Regions from separate parts of the Homo sapiens genome. Here region 2 is linked to region 1. Evidence: promoter capture Hi-C in 16 types of primary human blood cells and fetal thymus (Javierre and others, 2016). All regions are on one chromosome and are shown on one strand. Each heading gives the region's core, a stretch centred on a gene start or on the middle of the fragment in contact. The rest is flanking DNA. Distances are from core to core; before and after follow the strand shown.

Region 1 (2,518 bases), core at 7-2,506:
GGAGACAGCCCCAGGCCTGCCTGCTCAGGACTGGTCTGGCTTCCATCCAATAAAGGAAGGACCCTTCTCCAAAGAGTCAAAACAACCCAGATTGTTTTAGTTCCAGATTATTTTCTGAGCCCTTGGCTCAACAAAACCAGGTCCAGGATGGTTTGGCATCAGTATAATTCCAGGAGACTGAGCTGCAGGTCTCCTGGGTTCCCAGTTTCCTACTGCACTGCTCATGCAGTTCCCATGGAGCTGGAACATAGCCAGTCTGGACGGAAGGCTAAGTCACAGCACCCTGAAGGGACCATCCCAAGACCCTAGAGTATCTATCCACAGGGGACCTGCCTGTAAGGAAAGACAAAAATAGCCCATTAGGGCACTGCAATACTGCCTGCCCAGAAAGAGAGCAAATGCCAGGTGCTCTGGGGGCACCATACCAGCGGGCACCCAGCCCAGGCCTGAGCTCTGCCATCAGTGACAGTCCCCAGAACTTCTGCTCTGTCACTGGAGTGCCCACCCCAGAGCCCTCATACCTTCTCCACGTTCTCCACAGTGAAGTCCAAGGCTGGTGCTGCTCCAGCCCCTGCAGCCCCCGGCTGCTCCTCCCGCCGCTCCATCTTTGCTCCCTCCCTGGCAGGGAGGTGGGCCCTGATCTGTCTCCTGCCCCAGCCCCTTGGCTGCTGGCCCCCTGCTAGACCCCGGCTTGGGTGCCCAGGGAGTGGTGGGGTGAGGGGGGGCCCAGGGCGGGCATGGCTGCCGAGGCCTCCCCACCTCGTTTGGGGGTGGGAGGCTTGCCAGAGACCAAAATTGGTGCTCTTAGGAGACCCAATGAAGGGGACTCCGAGGAGGGAGCCGTCAGTGAGGAGCTCTCAGGCGGGGATCCTAGTGGCAGGTAACAGCTCTGTCCCCAGAATCTGTGTGGAGGGAGTCACAGGGGAGGGAGGCCTGCGGGGGAAACCGAGTCCCTGGCTCTTGAGGGGTCACAGGGTCGATGGCCTGTACCCACAACACCCCCGCCTGGGTGAGCTCTCGGCTGCTATGAACAGGTCATGGGGCTGGAGGGTCACGGGAGAGAGAGAGCCCTTCGTGGTTACGGAGGCGTCCAACGAAGCGCGGAGATGCAGCTCCGCTAGTCTAGGGCGAAGAGTCCGTGGAGTTGAGGGGCTGTGGCAGGTCCCTTCCGTTCGGCCTGGCCCGCGCTGTGCTCAACGCCCGGCTACAGCCCCGCTACAGCCGCTGCCTCCGCCCCAGTGACTGACAAGACAAGCCAGGCCGGCCGGGACGGGGCAGGGACCTCGGCAAGGCGCGGGCTGCCCCGAGCGCCTGTCCCCGGCACCTCCAACTCAGGCCCCCACTCCTGCCAGTTCTGGCTCGGCACGGCCCGGTACAGGCCGGCACGGCCCAGCGGAACTGCGCGGAAACTCATTCCGGGTCCTTAGCCCTGTCCTCGCGCCAGCTCGCACTCCCCTGAGCAGGCGGTGGAGCGGCTCGCCGCCCCAGGCCGCGGCCGAGTCTAGGCCCCGCCGCTGTTCACCCTGGGAAATGTAGTCCGTGTTGCGCCTAGCCGGAAGGCGGCGCCCTGCGGAGGAGGCCGGGAGCACGTGGGTTGGGGACCTGCAGAGCCCCGCCTGTCCTCGGCCTACCGCGGCGAGCAGGCATTCCGGGTCAGACCGGCGCGGGGCGCTGCGGCCCAACTCCTTAGTAGGACGACGTGACTCGAGGGGCCGGAGGACGGAGGTGGGAGCCCGGGCTAGAGGGTGGAGGCTGGGGAGGTTGCCTGGTCACTCTGGCGCTCCGCTGCCGGGGGCATCCTCCGGCCCAGCAAAGGTGCAGCCTGGGAAGAAGGCGTCAGCACCACCCAGAGAAGAGGAGAGGGGACTTGGCACGCCTCAGGAAGGAAAAAAGGAAGGCTCTCGGGACCACCCAATAAGCAACCGGGAAACCACATACCATGGACAGTGCTCGGGGAATTTCGTAAGGTTTTTGGAAGTAACTTTATGTGTAACTAGAGTAAGAGTAGCTTACATTTAAGTGCTAGGAGCAGGACTTTGCTTACCTTAGGTTCAGTTTTCTTAATAGCTCTGAGGTGGATATTTTTATTCATCATTTTCAGATGAGATGAGGAAATCGAGCTTGGGGAAAGTTAGGCTTATCTTGCCCCTGGCACACAGACAGGGTGGCAGACCATGCCATAGATCTGGTCTGCCACAGGCCCCGGTAGTTCCTGCCTGTCACCCCTCCAGTTGTATTTTATTGTTTATTAACTCCTGCCAGCTACCCTAGCAGGGAAGAGGAAAAAATTAAAAGTGCAAAGAGCTCCGTAGTTTTGTTCAAATGGAGGAAGCTGGCATTGGAAGCTGGCATTGGCAGCAGCTGCTGAGGCCTGAGAAGGTCCATGAAGGCTTCCCTGAGAAGAGAAACTTGATCTGAGCTTGAAGAATAGAGAGCCTGGGAAGGAGAGGGGCCCATTTAGCTGGTAAGCAAAATCCAGTAGGACTCTAAGTCATTCAGCAAGTCTTCATCAATAAAG
Region 2 (2,518 bases), core at 5-2,504, 780 kb after region 1:
TTTAACATAGCCAAAGTTACCAAAAGCAAAGACAAACTCACTTGGGCCTATTAGTTCACTGTTCCTAATTTAAGGAAACACTGGGGAAGAGTTTGTTAACTGGGGGTGAATTTGCTCCCCAAGAGTTTTCTGTGACTGCCTGGAGATATTTTTAGTTGTCAAATTTGGGAGGGAGGGTACTACTGGCATCTAGTAGGTAGAGGGCAGGGGTGCCGCTAAATATCCTACAGTGTAGGACAGGCCCCTACCCCCCAGCAAAGAATTATTCTCTCCACACTGTAGCAGTATCAAGATTGAGAAACCCTCTGTTAGAGTATTATAAAGTGTCTCCTTTTATCCTTCAAACTTTTTTCTTTTCTTTACCTGGGGACATTGTTTTTTTCTCTTCCTTTTGGTACTTTCATGCCTAGTAACAGTGAGTTAGATAATTAATCTGTCCAAATGTGATGCGAAAAATCGATGTAGTCTTAAACATGATTTACTTCAGTTTTGTAGGCAGGATTGTATAATAGGGTGAGTGCTGGCTTTGGAGTCAAACAGCCTGGGTCATCTTGGCTGTGCATTTTTTCACTGTGCGACTTGGGCAAGTTAACTTCCCTGTGCTTCAGTTTAGGGGATAACACAAATTTCAACTTCACTGGATTGTTATGAGACAGATATATCTTCATCTATGAAGAATATACCTAGATCTGAGAATATACTTAGAGTCCCTAACACAGTTTTTGGCACGTAGTAAATGTCAGAGGGTAGTGGTATTAATCATGGTGTTGCTATTAAGACAATGTAGACACTGGAGTAATGGTATGGAATGGCTGTAACGGTCCTTGTGTTCATATCACAGGTGCAAACGGAGGTTCTTCAGAAGAGGCAGCAGGAGAAAGCCCATATGATGAATGCTATTAAGAAATATCAGAAAGGTTGGTACATCTCTAATAGGGGAACGAGGGTAGCAGGTACTTTAGAGTTGATTTGAACACTTAGTGCTTTGGAGCCTTCTTGGTTGATGTGGACCTGTCGGATCAAAGTTTTGGGAATGGTGTTGGAGAGCAGGATGTGACTCTTAAAATCAGTGTAGCAAATAACAGCCTCATATGGTGGTTTAAACTTTTATTCTTAAAATACAATGGTGCTGATCAAAACTACTTCTTCACTTACAGGCTTCTCTGATAAACTGGATTTCCTTGAGGGAGATCAGAAACCTCTGGCACAGCGCAAGAAGGCAGGAGCCAAAGGCCAGCAGATGAGGAAGGGGTGAGAAGGGTTTTGGCATGGTTTCTTTGGTTCTGTGAGGTGCGATGGGGCCACAGGTCACGAGTATGGCAGACATAGCACCTCCACCGGCGCAGCCATAGAGTCCAGAGAGTGCAGCTGCTGCCTGGGGCCAGGACCCCTATGACTGTGTGATGGGCCCTTTTAGCCATGTCAGTCTTTGAAGAGTAAAAGAAGGCACTTTTTAAACTTCTTTTTTTTTTGGACAGTCTCATTCTGTCACTCAGGCTACAGTGCACTGGTACAGTCTTGGCTCACTGCAACCTCTGCCACCTGGGCTCAAGTAATTCTGTGCCTCAGCCTCCTGAGTAGCTGGAACTACAGGTGCCTGCCATCACACCCAGCTAATTTTTGTATTTGTAGTAGAGACAGGGTTTCACCATGTTGGCCAGGCTGGTTGTGAACTCCTGGCCTCAAGTGATTCACTCACCTCAGCCTCCCAAAGTGCTGGGATTATAGGTGTGAACCACTGCACCCATCCTAAGAAGGTACTTTTAAGTATGTGGCACCCTTTAAGTGAATGCTGAGTAAAGTTGATTCCCCATCACACAGTGCGATGGTTGAGAGTTCAGACCTAGGGTTCAGATCCCGACTCTACCACTCAGTAGGAGGGCAGTTTTGAACGAGTTACCATGCCTTTCTAAATGCTAATTGCCTCATCTGCTAAGTTGAGGAAATAGTGTCTGCCTCATAGTATGAAGACTGAAAGAGAGAATGTGGGCTCTCATTGTTTTTTCTAGTCTGCTTTTTTGCATACCTGGATACCAGGCCTAGGGGAAATGATAATTTCCATGTAAGATAGTAAGTGCTATGATAGAGGCATTTGGGGATTAGTACTGAGTCAGCTTTTATAAATACCTGACAGGGTCTGGGGTGGATTTCTGGAGGAGCGTTCGACTTGAGCATTGCTTGAAGCATGAGTAGGAATTAACCACGAGAATAGAAGAGAAGCTGGGTTTGGGAAGAAGTAAGAGCTTGAACGAGCAAAGCCATCGAGATGTGAAACCTCAGGGTTTTGTGAGGAACAGTAAGCCCTTGGTGTCACTGGGAATACAGTGCAAAGCAAGGAGGGGTGCAATGTGTTTGGGGGGACCTGGGCTGTGGGTTTGCCTTGTTGAGGAGCTTGGGCTTTGTCAGAAGGCAGTGGAGAGACTAGGTTGTAGGTTGTACTAACAGTAATGAGCAGGTTATATTCATGTTTTTAAAAAGATCACAGTGGATTTTGTATAAGTGACAGACTTGAGGGAAG

Evidence for each region. Contacts are between HindIII fragments. The CHiCAGO score rates a contact against its expected background, and 5 or more counts as called.
Region 2: a contact is called between a fragment that was not itself captured here and the fragment with the promoter of IPO13 in region 1, in 1 of 17 cell types (fetal thymus). The highest score is 5.5, in fetal thymus.

What each region holds. Positions count from the first base shown.
Region 1 is chr1:43,945,688-43,948,205 of GRCh38, reverse strand. It overlaps IPO13 (importin 13), which reads right to left and starts at 1,256. Exons shown (of 20, transcript NM_014652.4): 1 at 522-1,256. The coding sequence starts at 605. LOC101929609 (a long non-coding RNA gene) reads left to right here and starts at 1,607. Exons shown (of 2, transcript NR_188535.1): 1 at 1,607-1,725. RefSeq lists a silencer at 1,211-1,460. The HindIII fragment of the contact is 8,694 bases long and covers 1-2,518 here.
Region 2 is chr1:43,165,559-43,168,076 of GRCh38, reverse strand. It overlaps EBNA1BP2 (EBNA1 binding protein 2), which reads left to right. Exons shown (of 9, transcript NM_006824.3): 6 at 842-917; 7 at 1,158-1,251. Among named protein-coding and RNA genes, the nearest start is that of MIR6733, 4.9 kb to the left of the region's middle. The HindIII fragment of the contact is 3,482 bases long and covers 1-2,518 here.